Linked DNA regions of Homo sapiens: region 2 is linked to region 1. Evidence: promoter capture Hi-C in 16 types of primary human blood cells and fetal thymus (Javierre and others, 2016). All regions are on one chromosome and are shown on one strand. Each heading gives the region's core, a stretch centred on a gene start or on the middle of the fragment in contact. The rest is flanking DNA. Distances are from core to core; before and after follow the strand shown.

Region 1 (5,777 bases), core at 2,492-4,991:
TGTTCCTCCTGACTTGAAATAGCCTGCAAATGGAGCTTGCCTAAATGACCTTCGACTTCCTAACCCTATAATTCATTCTGTCTTCTTGTGATGGTATTGCTAGTGTGTGTGTGTGTGTGTGTGTGTGTGTCTACACACACAGTCACACAAAAGGATGCCAGACAGGTTCTTCCAGTGTGATTTGATTCCTTCTCCATGATACTGTGTATGAGTTAGCAGGTGATAAGGACACTAGTTTTCCTTCCATTACTGAGGCAGAGCTGCTTGCCATGAATGTACCTCTTAAGTATTTCCCAACCCAATCTAACCATGAACTAAACGACCCACTGGAAGAAAGCTGCCTGTCTCCAACTTCCTAGTACTCTGCAAAGAGAGGTAAAGGAACTATGGAAAATGAATTAGAACTAGAAATATGTCAGCCTCAGGATTCTGACTGCCCCAGAGGACAACTGGGGAAATGCTTTGCCTCTGACATCACTGGAGCCCAGTCTGGATCATTTTCACACATAATTGAATTCATTCTCCATTCCTAGGCTTAGGGGTGTGAGACTTAAAAGACTGTATGCTCTCCAGCCACAAGTGTTTATGCAAAGGGTGGATGTCCACTTGGCAAGAATGTCCTTTCCATTCCTTCATTCAGCAAGCTCTTATTGTACACTTTACTCTGTACCAGGCATCTACAATATGAAGATGAAAAGTCTGTTTTTGCCGGGCGCGGTGGCTCACGCCTGTAATCCCAGCACTTTGGGAGGCTGAGGCAGGTGGATCACCTGAGGTCAGGAGTTTGAGACCAGTCTGTCCAATATGGTGAAACCCCGTCTACTAAAATTATGGGCGCCTGTAATCCCAGCTACTCAGGAGGCTGAGGCAGGAGAGTTGCTTGAACCCGGTTGGGTGGAGGTTGCAGTGAGCTGAGATTGTGCCACTGCACTCCAGCCTGGGCGACAGAGCGAGACTCCAAATAAAAAGTCTTTTTTTTTTTTTTCCAACTTGGAAATGGGTCTCCCTATGTTGTCCAGGCTGTCCTCAAACTGGGCTCAAGGGATCCTCCCACCTCAGCCTCCCGAGTAGCTGGAATTACAGATGCATGCCACTGTGCAAGGCTAAGACATGGTCTTTGACTCCAAGGAACTCATAGTTTAGTAGACTTCAGGATAGCTACCAGGAGAAACCTATGCAGGATATTAAAAGGCTTTATGGGAGTTAGCCAGGGAAGATGGATGGTTAGTGGCATTCCAGACAGAGGAAACAGCAAAAACAAAGGCACAGAAGCAAGAAACAATATGATGTGTACGCATCACGTTACTGGAGGATCATTATTAGTGCAAAGGAAAAGCTTCAAGTAGATAACCTTTCAGTCCTGACATTCTGTGATTATTTGCCTGCTTCCACAGTGGTCATTTACACCTGTAGGCTTTTCTTGGGCCACTGCTATGTTTCCTAGTGTCTTCTTTTCTTTTTTTTTTGAGGCGGAGTCTCGCTTTGTCGCCCAGGCCGGAGTGCAGTGGCGTGGCGTGATCTCCACTCACTGCAAGCTCCACCTCCCGGGTTCACACCATTCTCCCGCCGCAGCCTTCTGAGTGGCTGGGACTATAGGCACCCGCCACCACGCCTGGCTAATTTTTTTGTATTTTAGTAGAGACGGGGTTTCACCGTGTTAGCCAGGATGGTCTCGATTTCCTGACCTCGTGATCCACCCGCCTCAGCCTCCCAAAGTGCTGGGATTACAGGCGTGAGCCACCGCACCCAGCCATTTCCTGGTGTTTTCATAGGTTCCAATATGCATGCTAAGTACTCATAGCTTCCTAGGTTGTTTACCATAACCACCCCTTACAGCTGGCTGGGCACACATTACCATTTCAGGTTATTAAGGGCAATTCTTAGGTGCCCATGTTATAAAAATACGAACAGTGAAGGTTGCTTCCTGAGTTCTACTATCCTACTAAGACATCAGAAATACCATCTAGTCCTTTTAAAAGCTTCCACTGTGGCCAAGAGCGGTGGTTCATGCCTGTAATCCCAGCACTGTGGGAGGCTGAGGTGGGTGGATCATGAAGTCAGGAGTTTGAGACCAACCTGGCCAACATGGTGAAACCCCTCTACTAAAAATTCAAATATTAGCCAGGCGTGGTGACGCGTGCCTGTAGTCCCGGCTACTCAGGAGGCTGAGGCAGGAGAATGGCTTGAACCCAGGTGGTGGAGATTGCAGTGAGCCGAGATCATGGCACGGCACTCAAGCCTGGGTGATAAAATGAGACTTGTCTCAAAAATAAAAAAAAAAAAAGCTTCCATTGTGTGGTAACTTTCTCCATTCATGGCAGCCCATTCTCTTCACTTTTGTAGTTTTCAGCTGCTAAAAAGCCTTCACGAAATGTACTCCACCATCTCTTCCTGTTTAGAACCTGAATCTGTCTAATCATCCCCCTATGATAAAGTGGTCAAGAGTTTGATTTTCTGTCAGAGTTCAGAGTTCAAATTCTAGCTCTTCCACTTACTAGTTGTGTGACCTTGGGCAAGTTTACTCAACTCCCCTCTACTGTAGTTCCCTCATTTGTAAAGTGAAATAACACCAGGTTCATGGGGGTGCTTGTGAAGATTAATAAGGTGATGTAGGTAAAATACTGAGCACAGCCCCTGGCATACACTTAAGCACTCAATATTGGCTCTCTTCATGAACTAGGTACCAATTCACTGATGATCGTAATATTGTTGCTTCCCTCTTTCTAGGCTTTATGGCTCTATTTTGTTTGTTACTGAGGGGTAAAAGATAAATGTTTACCATCACCTAGAATTGGGTTCTGGCCTCTAAAGGAACCTGAGGCTTAGATGAATTATTGGCTTTGGAAGCTGGCCTTCAAATTACTGCGCTAATTTATATTTTTCATTAAAAACTCAGCTTGCCTCTTCTATATAGCTGTCTTCCCTGGCCCTGAAACCCTAGTGTTTCGCCATAAAAGATTTTAAAATTAAGGGGTCATAATTCCCTCCCCATGATGTGTGGATTAATGGTAAGAAGATGCACAGAACATAATATTCTTAGGTTGAACGAAATAAAAGTAAAGAGTTGGCTCTGTTTCTCACCTTTGAAGCACAAATCAAGAGATACTATGATGAAGCATAGTTTTTCTTTATATAGGTGTGTAGAACTTTACCATAAAAATCACTAGTTCAGCCATCAGGAGATCTGGATCCTAGGCTCTTCACTGTCACCAAGATGCTGTGACCTCTAACCTTGTATAGAAGTTTGCTTTGTACTTTGCGAGGTTGAGCATTAGAGAGGTAAGGAAAGTGCCTAGCATCATACCTGGCGCACAGAACCCAAAACGGTAGGTATCATGTAGCAGTTCTGAAAATCTAGCCCATCAGGATGATGCAAATGGGTACTTTAGGCAGTGAGAAGGGGAACCACATCTTGACACTTCCAGTCGAAGGAAGAGTGCGACTGCGCGGCAGCAAAGACTACGCCTCCCAGCGTGCTTTGCGGCGGGCCGGCCCGCTTTACCCAGAGTCGCCCTGCCGCAATCGCGCGTCTTTCCACCGAGGCCCCGGATGTAGATTCCCTCCCCCGTTCAGTGGTCGTGGCCTCACAGCGACTCTAAGACTTGGGGCTCTCTCATTGGCTGTAACTCTTCCACTGGATTGGTAGCAAAAAAAGAGGCGGTGCCCAAGGCGAAAGGCTCTGTGACTACAGCCAATCAGAATCGAGGCCGGGCTTTGGCGGGAGGTGGGAACGCTGTGGCCATTCGGATTTGGCGCGAGCGCGGCTGGAGTTTGCTGCTGCCGCTGTGCAGTTTGTTCAGGGGCTTGTGGTGGTGAGTCCGAGAGGCTGCGTGTGAGAGACGTGAGAAGGATCCTGCACTGAGGAGGTGGAAAGAAGAGGATTGCTCGAGGAGGCCTGGGGTCTGTGAGGCAGCGGAGCTGGGTGAAGGCTGCGGGTTCCGGCGAGGCCTGAGGTGAAGTGAAGGGAAAAGAGCTGAGCTCGCTGGAGGTCTGAGGTCGGGATCAGGGAAAGGGCAGGTGCCCTCGGGGTAGTTCTAGCAGTTATGCGTGGTGTGAAGGAGGTGAAAGTTGTAGGAAGGAAATATTCTGGGGTGCGTTGAGAGCTGCCTAGAATGAGGACTGAGTGCAGGGGCGGAAAGAACTGAGGGAAGACTGAGCTGCAGTGTGAGGGCTTGGGATAGAAGAGACTAAATGTGGCGGGTGCTGGGCTGAACTGGTGATAAAGACACCCCGCGTGCCTGGAGGGAGGAAACTAGAAGTTCTATATAAATCAATTCATGTAACTTTTTTTTTTTTTTGAGACGGAGTCTCGCTCTTGTCGCCCAGGCTGTAGTGCAGTGGTGCGATCTCGGCTCACTGCAACCTCTGCCTGCCGGGTTCAAGCCATTCTCCTGCCTCAGCCTCTTCATGTAGCTGGGACTACAGGCGCCCGCCACCACGTCCGGCTAATTTTTTTTTTTTTTTTGAGACGGAGTCTCGCTCGGTCTCCCAGGCTGGAGTGCAGTGGCGCGATCTCGGCTCACTGCAAGCTCCGCCTCCCGGGTTCATGCCATTCTCCTGCCTCAGCCTCCCGAGTAGCTGGGACTACAGGCGCCCACCACCACGCCCGGCTAATTTTTTGCATTTTTAGTAGAGACGGGGTTTCACCGTGTTAGCCAGGATGGTCTCGGCCCGTCTCGGCCTCCCAAAGTGTTGGGATTACAGGCGTGAGCCACCGCGTTTGGCCGTAATTTTTGTATTTTTAGTAGAGACGGGGTTTCTCCATGTTGGTCAGGCTGGTCTCGAACTCCTGACCTCAGGTGATCCGCCCGCCTCAGCCTCCCAAAGTGCTGGGATTACAGGCGTGGGCCACCGCGCCCGGCCCATTTCAGGTAACTTGTTATTGCATCGCTCAATTGGTTAAGAACTTGGGCTCTGGCACCAGATGCCCGGGGTTACATTCCTGTTTTTCTGTGACTTTGGGCCACTGTTTATCTCAGTTTTCTCATGTGTAAAATAAAGGCTAATAATAGTACCTACTCCTAAGATCGTTGTTAAACGAGTTGGTACCTAAAGTGTTTATAACAGCGCCCTTCCACGTAGTAGGTAGACAACAAATGTCAGCTGTTCTTGCATAGATTTGGATGTGAAGCAAAAGTGAATGCTAAAATAAGTGTGATAACATAATTAGGAAATAAGTGTTAATCATCAGTATAAATAAATTCCATGTTAGTTATTTTCTCTTCACTTTCACATATTGACTAGTTGTCCTCTTATTTTTTTTAATCTAGCTGTGCTGTCGTCATGCCTCAAACCCGATCCCAGGCACAGGCTACAATCAGTTTTCCAAAAAGGAAGCTGTCTCGGGCATTGAACAAAGCTAAAAACTCCAGTGATGCCAAACTAGAACCAACAAATGTCCAAACCGTAACCTGTTCTCCTCGTGTAAAAGCCCTGCCTCTCAGCCCCAGGAAACGTCTGGGTAAACCATCCATTATATCACTTTTTCACTAGCAGCTCGTGACCTTTCTTTTCTTGGTAAGATGTGTGTCCTTTGAAGGAGCTTTCTAAGTTCAGTTAAGACTTCTTTTTTTTTTTTTTTTTTTTTTTGAGACAGAGTCTCGCTCCATCTCCCAGGCTGGAGTGCAATAGTGCGATCTTGGCTCACTGCAACCTCCGCCTCCTGGGTTCAAGCGATTCTCCTGCCTCAGCCTCCCAAGTAGCTGGGATTACAGGCGCCCACCACCAAGCCTGGCTAATTTTTTTTTTTTTTTTTTTTGGATTTTTAGTTGAGACAG
Region 2 (6,251 bases), core at 3,279-5,778, 260 kb before region 1:
GGTGAATGAACTCAACGTAACTGGTCACCAGGGAAGTCCTCCAAGCCCCTGAAGAGCCAGGGCAGGAAACTGTCCTAAGAGGTAACTGAGGGTGGGGCATGGCCTGTAAAATCTACAGACAGGTTCCTAGCTCCTAGACAGTCACACAGCTTTGTTCTTTTGGGAGCTAGTTGTCTAGAACTTGAGTCTCTGCGGGCAGACCCTGTTTAGGGTCTGCATTTCTGACAACACAGCAGGTGCTGGCATATAAACGCTTCTGCCACAGAGACACAGTACATGTTTGCTGAGTCAGATGAGTGAATGCATGAATAGGAAAGTGAGTGAGTGATCAAGTAGCGTGTTTGCGAAGGTCAGAAAAGAGAGGGGTGCTTGTTATTGGATGTGCTGACTTCTCACAACACACTTGAAGGGTCTGAGAAGGGAAGGCAGGTTACCGACCTCTCATTGTAGAACTGCAGGGTGTTCTCACTAAACAGTGGCCCTGCCAGCTGGCGGATCATCTGCAGCGACTTCTCACGCTCATCCAGCCCCAGCATCCGGACGTGGGCCACAAGCCAAGCCACAGCACACACCGCCAGACTGCATACCTTCCCTTTGATGTTATCAGTGATTTTCTAGGGGAGACGGAAAGGTGATGGGCTACCATCTATCTCCCTTTCTTGAGCCAACATCACCTTCTCAGCCTCTGCGGGCAGCTAAGTGCAGCGGGTGGAGTCCCGGGCCACATTCCACACCTCTCTCCACAAGTTTGATCTTCCCAGAGCTACCTGGGCCAGAGGGAGTAGCTAAGACAACGATTACACAAAATATCAATATCAAAACATGAGCTCCTGGATTAAAGGTCTTCTTGCCCTTACGAAATATAACAAGTCATCACTGGCTGGCTCTGTGTCTCAGGGGAGCAAACGCTGCTGGGAAGGCGGGGCTACCTGGATGGACTCGAAGGCCAGGACCCCATTCTCCCAGGCATTGAGGATTTCCAAGATGGCGGCTGAGATGCTGAGACAGGCCTCATGCCACTTCATCTGCCTGCGGGTGTGCAGAGAAGTCAGCACAGGGGAGCAAGGAACGGGCTCAGGGAGCGGGTCTTGACCCTGCCCCCACCGCCACCCTTGGAGTGGGCGCCCGGGCCACTGACACTAGCTTCATCTCCGAGGAGTTGTTGAGCAGGGCCACCAGGGACTCCACTTTGGTGGAGTCGGGGCGGAAGCAGGGGTGGTCAGGGTTCAGGATCTTGCCCTCCTCAGGCATGCAGGTCTGCATCCAGGTCTCGAAGAAGGGCACCTCAGCTCCTGTGCGCGACTCGGACAGAATCACCTGGGAAAGGGGAAGGGGGGCACCAGCCGAGTGGGGAGGGCGCGGCGCCTGCCAGCGCTGGACCTGGGGCTGCACTGTTTCCCGCCAGGCTGCTGCTCCAGCCCAGCCCAAAGACTGGGGACGAACTGGTCTAAGGGAGCCAGACGGGGGCAATGCTGCCACCTAGTGGTCAATGTGAACATAGGGCTGAAGGTGCCTCTACGGACTCCAGCCCGGGTGGGCACCTGGTTTCTGAGGCCCACAGAACTAACTGGCTGAGAGGCTGCGGGGGCGCAGGCAGTGAGGTGGGGAGAGTTCCGGGTTACCTCCTTCCCTTGAGCCCCCGTCCCGGTCGCTCCCCTCTCTCACCTCTGAACCATAGGTCTGGGCCACATGGCACAGCATGAGGAAGGAGATGTCAAACAGCAGGGCCCGGACGGAGGCCGGTTTGGCTGTGGAAGGACGGGAAGGCTGAGCTCCCAGACGAGGGCAGGGGGGAGCCCGTGTCTGGGTTGACAGGGATCGGGATTTGCCTCTAGGAAGGTCAGGGACCAAGTGGCTCCTTCAAAGCTCTGAGGCTCAGAATCCTTTTCTTGAGTCTCAACTGGAACATCATCCCTTCCTTGAGACCAAAGACCCCCAGCACCCTCTCCTGGCATACCTAACCAAGTCGTAAAGGGATGAGGGGGGGAAGGAGACACAGGGATGGTCTGGGAAGAATCCTTTTCCAGCATTATCCACTTTCAAGCTCTGTGGAAGCTTCCATTGGTCATGGCTCTGAGGAGGGAGCACAGCCTCCCCCTGTTGAGCTGGGGAGCCCTCCTCCCTCCCACACTCTCCCGCCACACCCCTCCTCAGGGCCCACTGGGCCTGCGGATGCACAGGGCTGACTTACTGCTTTCTTCGCTGCCATAGGTTGTGAATTCATTCAAACTGAAAGGAATGGAGACAGGCTGCATTGACCAGGGCATGAGCTGAGCAGTAGCTGGGCGCTGGGGCTACACATGTTCAGAGAGCGATAGCTAGAGTCTGAGTTACTGGTTAAACTTAAAATGAGACACATTGCTATAGAAAAAAGGTTTTTGTGGTTTTTGTTTTTTGTTTTTTTTTTGTTTTTTTTGAGAAAGAGTCTCGCTCTGTCACCCAGGCTGGAGTGCAGTGGCACAATCTCAGCTCACTGCAACCTCCGCCTCTGTTCAAGCAATTCTTCTGCCTCAGTCTCCCAAGTAGCTGGGATTACAGGTGCCCGCCACCACACCCGGCTAATTTTTTGTATTTTTAGTAGAGACAGGGTTTCACCAAGTTGGCCAGGCCGGTCTTGAACTCCTGACCTCAGGTGATCCGCCCACCTTGGCCTCCCTAAGTGCTAGGATTACAGGCGTGAGCCACCGCACCCGGCCAGAAGGATTTTTATTGTTAGAAGATTTCCAAGGCCTAGAGAATGGCTCACTGAATGGAACCATGTTCTATATATGTCAAATTCCAGGGCAATCAAAAAAGGCAACAGAATTTGAGAGCCCCTTATTAATAACTGGGCATACTTGGAATTCCTCCATGCCCAATGTTCAACACCTCAACCCTTACCCTCATCTCTTTACCAAACATGTCCACTCCATCCTCAGCTGAAGAGAAAGGAACACTTAGGTCGTGAGAACAGGCCCTTCCTCCAAGATCTCCAGCCAGGATGCTCTGCCTAGGCCCGTGGGTCTCTGGATGAGACCCAGACCCAGGCACCTGACTCCTACCCTGCTACCTCCTCCCAACGCGCAGCCTCCCTGCACGCCCTGGGGTCAGGGGCTTGGCCTTCCTCACTTGATGAATTTCCGGGCGAAGGATTTCAGCTTTCCAGTGGCGGCGGCGGCAGCCAGCAGCAAGTCCAGACTCTTCCCGGACAGCATGTGGCCCAGGACTCCCAGCAGTCCCTCCGGTGACTTAGAGTGGTCTGCATCCATCGTCTGGGGACAGGACAGGAAATCAAGTCCTGAAGAACACTGAAGACCCCCCACCCAAGATACAGCCTAGCCACATTTTCTCTCTTCACAACCTGGAATGTAATCTACATCTTTCTGACTTCAATCTGGAAAATCATTCCTAAAACCCACCCCTGCTCTCCGATCCATCCCTCTCATCTACACTGGCATGCAGGTGGTAAGGTTGGAGTGGGCAAGGTCACGGCTAGGATCTTCTCTGTCCTTTCCTTTTTTAGACAGAGTCTCGCTCTATCGCTGAGGCTGGAGTGCAGTGGTGCGATCTTGGCTCACTGCAACCTCTGCCCCCCAGGGTTCAGCGATTCTCCTGCCTCAGCCTCCCAAGTAACTGGGATTACAGGCATGCACCACCACACCCAGTGAATTTTGTGTTTTTAGTAGAGACTGGGTTTCACCACGCTGGCCAAGCTGGTCTCAAACTCCTGACCTCAAGGGATCTTCCCACCTCAGCCTCCCAAAATGCTGGGATTACAGGCGTGAGCCACCGCACCCACGTCTCTGTTGTTTCCATGTGAGATGGCCTAAGTGAAAGCGCCTACTGCAGTGCCTGGTGTACAAATGAAGCTCCCACGGGTTAGCATTCAGTGGTAGCTGCCCTTGCCTCCCCTTTCACTACCTCCAAAGCAACTATGTATAAAAGCTAAAGGAGACAGAGGTCTGTGGCCTCTGTTTATTTATCTGCAAGCAGATGGAGCACTGGAAAGAAGAAAGAGAAGACTGTGGTGGCCAGGGAAGGGCACACTCACCTTGAGGATGTTTGTGACAGTGGGCTCCGCCCGGAGGATCAGCTGGATGTTGGGCTGGATGTTGGCATTCTCTCCCGATTTCTGCTGGGGTGCGTGCTCTCGGTCCGCTTTGCTGTGGACATCACCAGTTGGCCAAGGAAGGGAAGAGGAATGAAGAGAAATTCTTGACACGTTCCCTCGTTCAAGCCCGGAAGGAAATGCGCAGAGGAGGTGGGAAGCATGTAAGAACCTCCGAGGTTGGGGTGAAGTTTATGGAAGCATAGTCAATGTTGCAATCACTGATTTAGCATTAGTCTTTTTTTTTGAGACAGGTCTCACTCTGTTGCCCAGGCTGGAGTACAGTGGCACGATCTCGGCTCACTGCAGCCTCTGCCTCCAGAGTAGCTGGGCGCTCACCACCACGCCTGGCTACTTTTTTGTATTTTTAGTAGAGACGGGGTTTCACCATGTTCTACTGGTCTCAAACTCCTGACCTCAGGTGATCCACCCACCTTGGCTTCCCAAAGTCCTGGGATTACAGGTGAGCCAGCACACCTGGCAATTTATCATTAGTCTTTTTTTTTTTTGAGACAGAGTCTCGCTCTGTCACCCAGGCTGGAATGCAGTGGCGCGATCTCAGCTCAGTACAACCTCTGCTTTCCGGGTTCAAGTGATTCTCCTGCCTCAGCCTCCTGAGTAGCTGGAATTACAGGTGCATACCATCGCGCCTGATTAATTTTTGTATTTTTAGTAGAGATGGGGTTTCACCACGTTGGCCAGGCTGGTCTCAAACTCCTGACCTCGTGATCCACCCGCCTTGGCCTCCCAAATGCTGGGATTACAGGTGTGAGCCACCGCAGCCGGCCTATCATTAGTCTTAAATGCTCTGAAAGCACATTTAAGATTAAAGGAAGATTCAGGATTTTTATTTATTTATTTATTTTTTTTTTGAGACAAGGTCTCACTCTATCGCCCAGGCTGGGGTGCAGTGGCATGATTTCGCCTCACCACAATCTCCGCCTCCTGGGTTCAAGCAATTCTCGTGCCTCAGCCTCCAGAGTAGCTGAGATTACAGGCACACACCACCACGCCCAGCTGATTTTTGTATTTTTAGTAGACATGGGGTTTTGCCATGTTGGGCAGGCTGGTCTTGAACTCCTGGCCTCCAAGTAATCCACCCGCCTCCAGCCTAGGATTTTTACTTTTATCACAAAGATGGGTATGAGTTAAAGAGCAGTGACTAAGAGTGTAAAACTCTGGTCTGAAGACATCTGTGCTTTCTTTTCCTTCCTGTTCCCTGTACCCCCAGGCACGGTCCCAGTCACTTGCAGCCCAAACTTTCGACAGGAGGTTGAAAGGCACGCAGCAGCCCCACCGTAACAAGAGAGAGGTCAAGGGGCTCTTGGGGTAGCACAGGTGCGTTCACACTTACCGCTTAGCCATAAGGTTGTTGACGCTGGCCTCAGACAGAAGCCCCTGCTTGCCACATTCTTGGAGCAGGAAGTTTGTACAGTCACAGCTGTGAGGGAGAAAGATGCTGAGGGAACTGGGCACCTGGATAGGATGGTGAGGGGTGGGAGTGGCAGGTCCCTGAGCAGCATCCTCCCTCTTTCAGGATGAGGAAAATCTGGAGTGCCTGAGGGACGGTAGAGGGGCTCTGGGGACTTGGCAACTGTGGGCTCCTATTTCCTGCCCCTGCCAAGGGGAGTGAACAAGGAGACAGAGTCCCCTGAGGCTTCTCTGGCACAGAGATCAGGGGAAGAGCCCAGAACGCCTTCCAGTAGGGCGGGGGTGACCAGGGGAGCTCATACTTGCAGCGCTGGTCAGCTTTGTCCAACAAGGGGGTGAGCTTCAGCAGGAACTCAAAAGCACAGTTGACATCCTCAGTGAAGTCCTAGAAAGAGGCAGAAGTGTCCATCTGGTTTCCAGGGCCACCAGGCCCTGATCATCTCAGGCAACCTTGTCTGCTGGAGGCATCGGCCTGAGTTGCCTGGCTGCTTTCTGCCTGGAGCCTGGGTGTATGTTGTGGGTGCACGCAGACGCTGAAGCACACACACTGGCTGAAGCACACGTACACGCTGAAGCACACACACGCTGAAACACACACACTGAAGCACGCACACACTGAAGCACACGCACATGCTGAAGCACACGCACATGCTGAAGCATGCACATTGTGAAGCACGTGCACGCTGAGGTGTACACTCACATCCGGCTCTCTTCCAGGCATGAGAACACTGCC

Evidence for each region. Contacts are between HindIII fragments. The CHiCAGO score rates a contact against its expected background, and 5 or more counts as called.
Region 2: a contact is called between a fragment that was not itself captured here and the fragment with the promoter of CDC6 in region 1, in 8 of 17 cell types (M0 macrophages, megakaryocytes, erythroblasts and 5 more). The highest score is 11.5, in M0 macrophages.

Annotation. Positions count from the first base shown.
Region 1 is chr17:40,284,138-40,289,914 of GRCh38, forward strand. CDC6 (cell division cycle 6) reads left to right here and starts at 3,742. Exons shown (of 12, transcript NM_001254.4): 1 at 3,742-3,953; 2 at 5,271-5,461. The coding sequence starts at 5,284. RefSeq lists enhancers at 3,502-4,309, 4,078-4,257, 4,288-4,357. The HindIII fragment of the contact is 8,752 bases long and covers 2,284-5,777 here.
Region 2 is chr17:40,025,718-40,031,968 of GRCh38, forward strand. MED24 (mediator complex subunit 24) reads right to left here. Exons shown (of 26, transcript NM_014815.4): 11 at 5,821-5,903; 12 at 5,442-5,528; 13 at 4,031-4,142; 14 at 3,109-3,251; 15 at 2,192-2,229; 16 at 1,666-1,748; 17 at 1,139-1,317; 18 at 930-1,029; 19 at 439-614. MIR6884 (microRNA 6884) reads right to left here and starts at 692; the gene lies at 615-692. It overlaps SNORD124 (small nucleolar RNA, C/D box 124), which reads right to left and starts at 1,928; the gene lies at 1,825-1,928. RefSeq lists an enhancer at 930-1,840. The HindIII fragment of the contact is 4,950 bases long and covers 2,054-6,251 here.